3 separate regions of the Homo sapiens genome follow, and all the other regions are linked to region 1. Evidence: promoter capture Hi-C in 16 types of primary human blood cells and fetal thymus (Javierre and others, 2016). All regions are on one chromosome and are shown on one strand. Each heading gives the region's core, a stretch centred on a gene start or on the middle of the fragment in contact. The rest is flanking DNA. Distances are from core to core; before and after follow the strand shown.

Region 1 (4,208 bases), core at 1,340-3,839:
TGGGGTGCAGTCGGGCGGTGTGTATCGGCCGCCCATGAGCACGCCTGGGTTCTCCCTCTGCACCCGCTCCAGGGGCATGGGTGAGGTGAACTCGATCAGCAGTCTGCCCACTGCAGACAGGACAGTGTCAGGAATCAGGGCATTGGCCAGAATCCACAGATACCAGCCCCCACCCTCAGCCTGGGGGTGGGCTAGGGAACCCCAAGAATAGCCCTCTTACAACAGACCTGGACCCCTGGCACACCCCTGGGTCCAGATGCCATTTCTCTAGTCAAACCAATAAAACCCTGTTTCCCCACAGGCAGGCCCTACCCTCCAGGCTCACCAAGACCAGGTGGCGAGTCAGGACAGGGTGGCAGCGTGGGAGCCGTGGGACCGGGCAGGGCACTGGGGACCTCAGGGAGCCCGGAGCTAGAGGCGGTGGCGTTGGGCCGGGAGCAGTTGCTGCTGCTGCTGCTGCTGCTAGCAGCTGGGTGGAGGGCATGGGCAGGGCCTCGGGCACTGAAGCGGCTGAAGAAGGCCAGGTGCTGGGCGTAGACGTCAAAGTAGAGGATGACGGCCACGAGGAAGTGCAGCAGGCAGAGAAGGAGCACAGCCTTGCAGACGCGCTCCAGCGTCCCCCCCAGCAGTCTGCTCATCCCGCAGGCGGCCACTGGCCCGCCCAGTGGGCCCGGGCATCCGGCTGCTGGCCTGAGCAGGGTGGGAGGGAAACAGATCCAGCAGGTCAGGGCAGGACAGGCAAGGCTGCCCACCTACCTCCCACTCAGCTGCTCACACTCGTGGGCCACACCTCACACTGACCTGCTCATACCCTTTCACACTCACAGACTCAAGAATTTACCTCCAAACAGACACCCAGGCACAGTTCCCGGCAACTCAGTACTCACATCCTCAAGCACACCCCACTACTAAGCCACATACATTTACCTTCCTCCACCTCACTGACACACACACTCAGGCACTCACCCTTATTGCACAACTCTACACACACACTCACGCATTCCCAGGAACACAGACACGTGAACTCTAACCACACTGGTTTGTACCTAAGCATGGAGACATGTTTACCTATAGACCCCCATGTGCCCCTGTGCCCCTGAGAACAGACACCTCACATGGCAGCATCCTTAACCCAGAACTCATGGCTTGGGGAAGAGGGAAGAGACGGAATACTGTGCACCTACCATGCAGGAGCACTTTATACTCATGACTTCATTTAGTCCTTCCAGGAGCCATGGTGGGAAGTGGTTTGGTCATTCAGATCCCAGCGACAAGCAGGCCAGGCCAACTGGGACCAGGCTGGGAAGTTGCCCTCAGCATCCGGGGGGCCCAAATACAGACTGGATGTTTACAGAATCCCTTCCCACTGGAGCAAAACGTCAAAATACGGGGCAAGGCAGGGGACACCCCTCACTTAAGACCTCAAAGCCAGCCCCTTGGGACTGGGACCAAGACTCTGGGTCCTGCCCAGCACAGCTGGTTCTGATTCCCGGAACGGGATGCTTGGGCCTGGAGATGGGCACAGCACTGGGCATGGCAGGAAGGGGGTCTTGCCTGGGCGATGGCTCCAGCTGTGGTTCCAAGAGAGCGGCAGCCACTTCTGGCAGTGCTTCAGGGAGCAGGGTGAGTCTCACAGGCACACAGAATCACAGGGACACCCTGGTCCCAGCTGGTCACCCACACTCAGACACACAGAGAACTACAGTCACAGACACACCCGGGTGACAGTAACACACTAAGTCCCACACTCACAAACAAGGCCACTGCTCCTGGACTTCCACAGCCATACATCCAGACTCTCAGACAGCTCACACCCAGACCCACGTGCAGACATTCCCACCCTCCCTCCGGCGCAGGGGTTCTGGGTCAGGCTGGCGGCCAGGCTGAGGGGTGCGTTTGGGCGGGGCTGGCAGGCTGAACACGTGGCACCCGCGGACGGGCAGGCCGCACAGACCGGGTGGGTGTGGAGCCTGGGGGCAGGGGGAGTGGGTGGAGGGCAGCGGATGAGGCAAAGGCCAAGGGGAAACGTGTATGGAACGCCTCCCCGCGCCACGAGGCCGGGGCGAGCGAGGACAATGAGGGAGGCCGGCTGGACGCGGGCGGAGAAGCCCAGGAGGGGCGCCGGAGTGGGGGCGGGGTGGGGGCAGCCAGGCCGGGGTCTGGCCGCCGGCGCCTCTCTCACCGGCTCCTGGGTTGGGATCTCGGGGCCGCGCTCGGGGTGCCCCTCGCGGGGCTGGGTCTGGAATCTCGGGGCCCTGGGTGGGGGCCGCGCGCGCCCTCCTCTCACCCGGCGCTCGGGGCTCAGCAGGGGACGCCGCTCCGACTTGGGCAGGGCTCCCGGCTCCGGCGGCTGCGGACGGTTCCGTCCCCCATGGCCCGGCCCCGCCGCCTCCCGCCGCCCGGTCAGCGGCCACCGCGGCCCCCGGGTCGCCTCCCGCCGCCGCCGCCGCCGCCGCCGCCGCGGGCCATGGAGCCGAGCCGCCCCGGGGGGCAGGGCGGGGCCGGGCGGCCGGGCAGACCCACGGACCGGCGGACCCACGGACCACAGCGCCGCCGCCTCCCTCCCGCGCTACGGCGCCTCGGAGGGGCAGGCCCGGCCCGCGCGCCCGCGCGCGCGCCCCCGCGGCCCCCGCCTCCAGCACGCCCGCACCCGCCGCGCGCCGCTGCGAGCCCGCCCTGCCGGCGGCCGAACCCGGGCACCCAGGAGGCACGGACCTGGGAGCGCGGGAGGAAATGGGTCAGGCTCGTCCAAAGGGTGGGCTTAGAGGTCGGACCGGCGAGCGGGTGCAGACCGTGGAGTCCCTTAGCGGGGAGTGGGGATTGCATTGGAGCGCGAACTCCCCAGGAAGGGGACCTGGAGGTTGGGCGGACTCAGGCTGCGGGGCTAGGGATTTGTCAACTCTTTAATTGGACCAAGATTCAAGGTCGGCCAGCAGAGAGGGGGCAGGACCCTTAAAGGCGTGGGCTGGAGGTGGCTGGGGCTTCTGGGGTAACAGGAAACAGGGTCAGGGAAGGAGAAAACGAGATTGGATGGGGTGGGAGGAGCTGCCCTGGGCCCTGGGAACAAGGATCAGAGTAGAGGTTTCTGGGAGGGGCTGCTGCTAGAAGGACAGGACCATCACTGGAGGCAGAGACCACTGCCTAGGCTCCAGGCCTCACAAGGACGGAGATGATGGTGCCCGACTGTACAACCAGGTAAGTAGATGCTGTCAGACAATTCGGGCATGGTGGTCAGTCAGAGCCCTGAGCAAACGGGCCTAGAAGGACTACAGGCACAAACACACCCAGGGGCCCCTATCTGCACACTCCCTCATCCCCAAACAAGTCTGTTTGGGGGTTAGAGTCCACCCAGCACCCGTGCCTCCCCACCTAGGAGCAAGCTCTGTGCAGATCAGAAGTGTGCAGTCAGAAAGCTGACAAGGGATTGGCATGAGGCTGAGGCGTACAGGCCTCTTTACCCTTCCTCTGTGAACGGTGACGCAAGAGGGCAACAGAAGCTGCACTGACCCAGACAAATACCAAGTTTATTTCACAAACACTAGGAAGATGGGTTGAGGGTGGAGGTGGGGGACACAGGTGCGCAGCTGCACAGAGTCAGCAGCAGCAGCCTGCTCCCCGCACTGAGGACTCGGCCTGGACTGCAGTGCCTCCAAATCAACACGCAGCAAGAGGGGAGTGCAGGGAGGGCCCTGAACACCAAGCCTCTGAAAGGCTAAGGGACACAGCTCCAGCTGTCCCAGGAAAACCAGCAATAAATAAAAGTGAGGCACGGCCCCACCCACACATATCATCTAGTCACCCATCTTCACTCTGGAGGTCTGCAAAAAAAGAACAGGAGAAATCAGGCAGGGACAGAGGAATAGGTAAGGCAGTGACAAATGATAGAAGATGACATCTAGCACATGGTTGGATGGACAGACCACAAGAGATATATGACTAACCAGGATGGACACACTGTGACAGACAAGGCAGACAGGGACAGACAACCACAGAGTTACGCTGTGGGACAGACGGAGAGAAGTGGCATATGGATAAAGCTAGTCACTAAGAATCAACTCAGTCAAGCACCCACAGTCACACTCAGACCCTCAGGCTGATCCTTAGTCACAAACTCACACACTGTCAGACAGACTAGACACACACAATTTAGACAATGGTGTCCTACTGACAGGCATGTGAGAGGGAGATACACATAGCTCCGAGAGACA
Region 2 (3,868 bases), core at 1,039-3,538, 1.1 Mb after region 1:
TGGTGTCTTTGTTGTTTTTTTGTTTTTTTTTTAATTTACCAATGTAACCAAAACTCCTAGAGTAGTGGCAGCCATATACAGTAGATCCTTCATAAGTATTTGTTGAATGAGTTGAATAAAACACCAGCTCTGTCTTCATGGGACACAAGTAACCATGAACTGTCTCACCCACTTTTCCTCAGCAATCTCCTGATTCCTGCCTACTTTCTCCTTTATGCAGTCACAGAATCTTGTGCTTGGCTTATAGTGGTTTGCAACTACTAGTAGAACATGTCTGTTTCTATTAGTAGTTTATAAGCAACTTGAGGAAAGGGACTGGGTCATATTAGTAATCTCCTTCTGCAGCATAAAGCTGGGTGCTCAAATGTCTTTTGAATGTATAAGTGACAGGATGTGATCTTAATTCACGCCACCATCCCATCCCCCACCCCCTGCCCTGCTCCCATCTGACCTACAGCTACAGTATCTCTACGCAATGAGCTATTCAGCCTCCACTCACTTCCGAAACTGCTATTCTGAGAACCTATAATTTACCAAGTTCCAGCTCTACCCGGGGCTGGATGCTAGGTCAATGTAAGAGCAAAAGGATTTAGGATTATGATTACCACTCAGTTTGTGATACAGTGTACTGAAACAGACCGTGAACTCCAGAAATTGTCATACAATGCAGAAGGTTAAGTTCAGGGGACAGGGGCAGGAACTGTGCCTTAGTCACCTTTGTACCCACTCCTCAGTGTCTAACACAGCACCTGGCACATTATTAACATTTTTTTAAAGCTCGAATCAAGTGCTAAGCTGTGGACTAAGGACCATATATGAATCATCTAATTTCACTTCACATCATCCTTATTTTAGAGATGAGAAAGCTGAGGCTCAGAGAAATTAAGTATCTTGCCCAAGGGCACACAGCAAGTAAGTGGCAGAACTGGGGCCTATGCCCATCACTTCAAAGTCAGTGCTTTTAACCATTATACTATTACTGAAGGAAAAAAGGAGAGAAGACGGGAAGGAAGGAAATAAAAACAGTACCACTGAAGTTCACATGATACAGATGTATCTCCCTGATGAAATCAGGGCTGAGAAGTTTCAAGGAGGAGTAGGTATTTGACCTAAGGTTTGCAGGATGGGTAAGACTGGGACTTGCAGAGATAAAGAGGCAACTACCTACTGAGAAGACAGTGCAGCTGAAGTACAGAGGCACTTTCATATCACACTGCAGAGATCTGGGGGGAAAAGGGGTCTATTGGGCTTTGTCTTCCTGGTGGCTCAGCTGCACAGAGAGAAGCAACGGTGGAAGGGGCTGAGAAGTGGAGGAGGGGCCAGGTCTAAGAAGTTAAGAGCCAAGAAGATGGGGCTAGTGATCACAGATGATGAAGGTGAAGCGCCTAGGTTAAAGGCAAGGGGCCAAGCCATAGTGCGGTATGGAGGTCCGAAGTTACAGGTCTTTGGGGCCAAGTCAAGGGCTGCAGGGAGGAAGAGGAGAGAGGAGCTATGAAAGACCAAGAGCAAGGTGCTAACAGGGTAATTGTACAGGGAAGCTAGATAACGGGTCAGAGATACAGGAGGACCAAGGAAGTCAGAGGGTCGCAGGAGACGGTCAGGGAAGAGGAAGCAAAGGCTGCCAGAAGTGTCACAGGCCAGGGCCCAAGAGCTGAGTTGTGTGTTGCGGGGCGGGGAGAAGCCAATGGCGGAGGTCCAAGGGTACAAGAGCTGGTTTCAGAGATTGCCGGCGGGCTTGGGGCCAGAGAGGTGGGAGAGGAGGAGGGGCTGATCCTAAACGTATGGTCAGCGGCAGGAAGGCTGTATACTCAAACCCAACAGAAGGGCCGGGGAATGGGTTGGGGACAGCCACCTGGCTGCGTGGGCCGGGGGCCAGGGCGAGGGTCGCGGCGGAGGGACCACAAGGCCCCTTGGCTTCCCACTCGGTCCAGGGAGCAAAGCAGCAGCATCCAGATCCTCGGTGAGAGGGAAGTGGCCGTGTACAGAGTTTCCCGCGAAGTCGTGTCCGCCTCCCCCCGCGACCTCGGGCCCAACCCGGACCCACCTCGCTCCCGCCGCTCGATCAGGGACAGCGCCGCCTCTGTAGGCGAGGGAAGGAGCTGGAGCCGGAGCCGGAACCCAGGAAGGATCCGCCCTACTACTCCAGGATTGGTTTCTTGGGATAATTCTTTATTTCCATTGGCTACCATGACTGCCACAACGCAAGCGACCTGGCAGGACCACCAATAAGCTTTGACCGCTGGCGTGGCATGCTGGGAGTTGTAGTCCTAAGGAAGCGCGTAGACTCAGAGAAAACTTGCGAAGTTTAGGATGGAGCTGAAGAGACTGGGTTCCGTCCTACGGTGGGATTTCTTTCCGTGCTCGCGCGTTCAGCCCCAAGTCTCAGGGCCACTCGTCTGGGAAGTTGTAGAATCTGTATAGCCAACCTACACAACCTCCAAGGGGGCAAGTACTCAAATTTCCTTCTTTACTTTGAGTTGGTAATCCTTGACCGTCCTGTAGACGTCCAACGAAGCCTAGAGTCTGGCACCTCACTCAAGGTTTATAACTTAAAATCAAAGGAGGGTAGAGCTGGAAGGGAGTTTAAAGATAAAATAACCCAATCTCCTTATCGGAGAAGCTAAAAGTACCCTGTTCAAGGATCAACCTCCAGGTCTTCCAGCCCCCCTGAGCAGGGATTTTCCCGGGTTCCGCGTGCATCCCTAATTAAGCCTGACACGTGTTCGTCAATCCAGACACAACAAGATCACCAAAGTATCCAGGACTAGGTCTTTTTTTTCAGGTTTTATTTTTTAAAATAATAAAAGGCTAATGAAATACGTAAACTACAGGCTTCTCGTATCTGCACAATGTTTCAGTGCAAAGAACAAGGAGCATTGCCTTCAGAGCTAGATAAACCAAGTATAAAACTCTGGCTCTACCACCTAGCCATTTGGAGTACCAACTCCCTCCCCCATAAAATCCCTGGCAGAATTACTGTGAGGATATTATATATACATACATATATTCTCATGCATGTGTATGTGTATACATATATACATATATATGTATGTATGTTTTATATAGTTGTAAGGTTATAATACATACATATATTGAGGTTATTTCTTGATGACATTAATATTCAAATCAGTAGACTGATATGTATGTACATATATACATGTATAATACACATACATGTGTATATACATATACTAATGTATACATGTGTATATACATGCATACATGTGTGAATATGTATTATACATACATATGTATATATGTGTATACATATACACGTGCATACATGCTAAATACATATACATATATATACACCTATGTAGTACAGATATGTATATACACATACATGTATACATGTGTATATGTGTATGTATGCATATGTGTGTGTATATTATATGTATATTCATGTATGTATGTGTATATGTATGCATGTATTCTGCCTCCACAAGCTGACAATGTGAGTTAGTTTTAAGATTGGGATATTCAGGAATGCATGTTTGGAACTGAATATGGTTGAGTGAAATATGTGTGCCTTATGAACACTATTTGTTTATAAATTGATAAAATAAAATACTAGAGAGCAGACTCAGGAATAAAACTATGGCTTTAGTATGAACGGTGGCTAAACCTTGCCTTGGGGGACTCAAAGCTCTTTGGAAACCAATCTCTTACCTTCCCCACAACTCCTCATTCACAATGAAAATAACAGCATACCAAAACACAAATACCAAACTTTTATTTTAAAACTGTACAAAAGCAAACAAAAAATTCCACTGAGTCACTGTGATAGTTAATCTTATGTATCCACTTAACTGGGTCACAAGATGCCCAGCTATTTGGTCAAACATTATTCTGAGTGTTCCTGTGAGGG
Region 3 (4,286 bases), core at 1,581-4,080, 1.3 Mb after region 1:
TCATGGACTAAATACTTAAAAAATGTAAAGATATTACTCTTATTCTGGACAAAACTGTTGATTTCAAAAAATGTCATAACCTATGCCTACTTAAAAAAAATGCAGCGAAACAAGGCACATGCTAAAACTTCTTCAACACATACAAAACCTGCAATCTATCCGCTGAAAAGGCTGCAAATTTGCACACCAGAGTTACCATTACATTGGGTCAAGGGTTAAAAGCAGTGATTTTGAAGGTATGGCCCGAAGACCATTATCATTCCTGTTAAAAATGTACCCAGACCTAATGAATCCAAGGCTCAGAAGGAGGAACTCACCACTTACATCACACCCTCCCAAGGTAAGCACACTTAAATTTGAAAACCACTGGTTTAAGGGTTAGACTAGTAACGATAATCAGAGTAAGACAGAAATACAAACTAAAACACTAGAAAGTTCAGAGAGATCAGTTAAAAAGCTATCAGTATGCCAATTATATATAAGCATTCCCTTCCTTCTTGCTAGTAAGCCATTATCAAAAAATTAATGAAAAACGTAGTTTCGGCCAGCCAGGAAAGCAAACAGTATATAACAAGATGGAAAATCCTAAGATTTTGGAAGAAACAAAATATTTTCCCACAATTGCAAAAGTAGAGAATAGATCACCAAATGCTTATCTCTTACTCTGAGTGTTTCCACAATACTCTATGATTGATTAATGAACAGTTTTTCATCAGGCAATGATTCTGTCCTTAAGCTTGATTTTGCCCATTTGTTGTCCATTCCACATTGTTCTTTTAATCATCTGCTTAGGTCTTCTACAGTAAGCAAGCAAGACAATGCTGAGATGGCACTAAGTACCATACCTGTGAGGCCAAGATTGCTACTGGCATACCCAGTGCTCTGCACCCATGTAACTAGCACTACTAGCCTTGGCAGCCATCTTGAAAATGATGCCCGGCTTACAAGGGAGCCCATGGAATACAGTGCGTCTACTGCACGTTACCACCACCACTCCTACAAACAACCCGAAGGGTAAGTCCTAAAGACGTGTCTGCAGCTTTGCCTTCAAACAGGAAGAAAAATGTCAAGTTACCAGTGACTATGGCCACTCTAATAAGCTACAGCCAGGGATCTAACAGAAATCGACTTAACCAGTTATGATTCTAGGACAAGGAAGAATGAAAAATAAGAACGGAAGAAGGAAAAAAAACCACTTTCTTGTAAATATATTATTTACTGGATGAGCAAATAAAAACAGTTCTCTCTGGTCAAAGCTGTGCTAAGACAAAATTTATCTCAGGTATTAAAATGAAACGTGAAACAAAGGCAATACAACCTCTCGGTAAAGATGACAAAACCTCATATAGTCAAATCCTCTTACCCTAAAACGTTAACAATGTATAAATATCCGATGTCAGTGGATCACATTCTCAAATACCGAGTTCAATAAAGTAGAAAAAGATGACAAGGATAAAAATGTACTGGACCGTAGTTTCCCGTTTACCCTGTTAAGGAATGGCTCATTCACTCCGCTTGCCTTTTGAATTGCTTTGTACTGTGACGAAGCCTTTTAAGTTAGCTTCAAATTAATATTTAGCTGCAAAACAAAGGCATTCTCTAGATCCACTAATCCCTAATCAAGGAAAACAACAACAACAAAAAATCATACTAATACACCAGAGGTAGTAAACGCCTTTCAGAACAGAGCTGTGGATTGGGGCTTCCCAAGCCCCGAGAAGCCGACAGAGCAGGAAGCAAGCAAGAAGGTGGGATGGAGGCTTCAGAGCCCGGCAGCTCACCTGTTGATGAAACCATATCCGTTCCTTACATTGAACCATTTTACTGTTCCCAAAACCTTCGTTGCTGGAAAAGAAAACAAAGCAAAACAAGCCACGATTACCAGCTATCCTTTTCCAAATCCGCCCGGCTTGGGCATCCGGTCCCTCGCACGCCGGCCGCCGCGGCCACCTGACAGCCCTTTCTCTCCACCGCCCGGGTGCGGGGCCACGCAGTCGCCGCCGCCGCCGCACACGTGGGTGAGTCTGAAGCGCGGGGCGCTCCAGGGCAGGCCCGGGGCGCGGGCCCCAGGATGGGTGTGTGCGCAGGCCGCGGACGGAGAGCACGTGAGGGAAGGGGAAGCCGCTCCGGCCTGCGTAGGCGGTGCGCCGCGCCCTCCGAGCACACGCGGAAGGGAGCTGGGTGGGGGTGACGCGAACAACGGCGTGCGGGCCCGAGCGCACGAGGCCGGTCGGCGGGGAGGGGACCCCGTCGCACACGCGGTCGGCGGCGCGCGGCCGCAGGGGGAGGGGCGCGCGGCCGCGCGGGGTCCACAGGGGGCGCGGGAGGCAGTGCGCGCGCGCCTGCCGGGCGGGTCCCCGCGAGAGGGAGTGAGGGGGGGACGGGGGGGATGGGCGGCCGCGCGCCGCGGAGTCGGTGCCCACCGGCCGCGCGCCCGCCGGCTCGCCCAGCTCCGGCTAACGGTTCCGCTGCTGGGCTGCCCGAGGGCCCCACCCCCGTCCCTGTCCGGTCCTCACCGATGACCTTCTTGTCCCCGCCGGCAGGCGCCGCCGATGTGAGGCCGCCCGGGCCACCGCTCCCTGCGCCGCTGCCCGTAGTGCCGGGCTTGGTGTCGGCGGCGCTGAGGGCGGGGGCGGCGGGGGGGGCGGCGGGCGGCTGCTGGGTCTCGGCCTCGCTGCTCATGGTTGCGGTGATGGTGACTGGGGCCGGCTGCGGCAGCTGCGGCTCCTCCCGGGGTGTGATGGTAACTAGGCCGGCGGCGGCGGTGGGGCTGCTCAGGGCTCTCTGGGGTCCGCTCTCCGCTCCCGCTACCGATCGAACTAGCGAGAATGGCGGGACAGGCGGGATAAGCCCTACGAGCGACCCGCCCTAGGCGTTGTTCACTGGCCAGTGGTACTGTCAATCTGCCCACCTGACCCCAATCCCTAGCTTCTATTGGCTAATATTTTATCAGTCCTCCATTCTCATTGGACCTTTGGCGGCTAATTCAGTCGACCTACAACCGTTCCTGCCTCCGCCGGCCGCCATAGAGACCGGAACTAGAATTAGAGTAGTCGGCCACGAAAACCATAGAGTACCCGAGAGGACGGGCAGAAGGAACGTGACTTCCACGAGGCAGCCGCCGGGCTGGCGGGCCCCACGTTCAGGGTTGTGTCTCGGCTGAAAAAAAGGCACGCCCGAACGCTGGGCAGGGATTACCCGGCCGGACCCGGGATTGGAAGGGGGCTCGAAGACGCCTTAGCCCCCCGTGAAGAAAAGGCTTCCCTCCCTCCCAGCTCCAAATACGGTCCCTGTGATCTGAGAACATTACGGCGGGCATAGAGTCGTCTTTTCTTTAATGGCCGTGTAGTCGCGGCACAGCCGAGGGTTTCTGGAATTGCCTTAAACGTATGCGTTTGAAGAGCGTACCCTTTTGTCGGAGCAGTCACCTTGGAGGGACCACGCAGGCTATGGCAGCCCGGGTTCAGCATGTTTAGGGCGAGGGTGTGCTCCATGGGGACCTGCCTTCTGATCCGTTTTACCAGGCATATATTTAAAAAAATGTGTCTTCCTTTCCAAGTATTCACATCTTTTTCTACTGACCACAAATCAGATTTAATTCAACTCACATTTATTGAACAAGCTAGCCTGTTTTGTTTTTTCACTTTATTCCTGCAACAGCCACGTGATAGAGGGATTACTATCCACGTTTCACAAACGATAAAATTGAGGCTGCCACCTGATGTTACTGAAGTCCTCCACCCACCTTCTTTCGTTCTTTTTTAAGCGTCTACTATCGGCTGGGGATGGAATAGTTCGCGAGTCAGTTTCTGCCTTCTGATGGAGGCAGAAATTTAAACAGCCAACACGGTAAATACTCCAGAGCTGCAAAACCACGAAGTATTTTGGGAGTGGAAGCAGGGAGAAGGTGGAGGGCTGACTTTCCGCGCACAGGGTACAGGCGAGAAGAGGTGAGATCTCGGGAAATGCAGTCAAGTAGTTCAGTAAGACTCGAATGTGACATTGGGTTGCAGAGGTGGGCAGTCACTTAGGTATATTTAATTGGAAATATATCCTGAGGGGAAGAGTGAGAAGAGCAATTTTAGAGTCATAAGTAGGGAGGGGCATCTTTTTAAAAATGGCTGCGGAGTGGAGAATGGGTTGCAGAGGGGCAAGGAATGGAAGTAGAGAAAGCAGTTAGGAGGCTAATGCAGTATTCCTTACCCCTACCAATGCCGTCTAGGCCTGTGAGTTCCACCTCCTAAAGGCGTTCTTGAGTCAGTCCTAAACCCTCTAAATGTCAATTC

Evidence for each region. The method cuts DNA at HindIII sites, captures the fragments that hold promoters and counts their contacts. A CHiCAGO score of 5 or more calls a contact.
Region 2: a contact is called between the fragment with the promoter of ZNF691-DT here and the fragment with the promoter of B4GALT2 in region 1, in 3 of 17 cell types (fetal thymus, total B cells and total CD8 T cells). The highest score is 6.0, in fetal thymus.
Region 3: a contact is called between the fragment with the promoter of YBX1 here and the fragment with the promoter of B4GALT2 in region 1, in 3 of 17 cell types (naive CD8 T cells, fetal thymus and total B cells). The highest score is 6.5, in naive CD8 T cells.

The regions. Positions count from the first base shown.
Region 1 is chr1:43,977,591-43,981,798 of GRCh38, reverse strand. B4GALT2 (beta-1,4-galactosyltransferase 2) reads right to left here and starts at 2,589. Exons shown (of 7, transcript NM_003780.5): 1 at 2,288-2,589; 2 at 326-690; 3 at 1-110. The coding sequence starts at 638. ATP6V0B (ATPase H+ transporting V0 subunit b) reads right to left here. Exons shown (of 8, transcript NM_004047.5): 8 at 3,504-3,818. The coding sequence ends at 3,792. RefSeq lists silencers at 2,216-2,325, 2,596-2,695 and enhancers at 2,113-2,704, 2,705-3,295, 3,296-3,887. The HindIII fragment of the contact is 15,054 bases long and covers 1-4,208 here.
Region 2 is chr1:42,844,834-42,848,701 of GRCh38, reverse strand. It overlaps ZNF691-DT (ZNF691 divergent transcript), which reads left to right and starts at 2,288. Exons shown (of 5, transcript NR_186083.1): 1 at 2,288-2,445. ZNF691 (zinc finger protein 691) reads right to left here and starts at 2,089. Exons shown (of 4, transcript NM_001242739.2): 1 at 2,045-2,089. It overlaps ERMAP (erythroblast membrane associated protein (Scianna blood group)), which reads right to left. Exons shown (of 12, transcript NM_001017922.2): 12 at 3,711-3,868. RefSeq lists enhancers at 2,053-2,122, 2,283-2,552. The HindIII fragment of the contact is 2,341 bases long and covers 2,233-3,868 here.
Region 3 is chr1:42,680,962-42,685,247 of GRCh38, reverse strand. It overlaps YBX1 (Y-box binding protein 1), which reads right to left and starts at 2,830. Exons shown (of 8, transcript NM_004559.5): 1 at 2,517-2,830; 2 at 1,782-1,845. The coding sequence starts at 2,682. It also overlaps a transcript of PPIH not described here. RefSeq lists silencers at 1,925-2,074, 2,185-2,294, 2,485-2,684 and an enhancer at 3,125-3,174. The HindIII fragment of the contact is 3,657 bases long and covers 739-4,286 here.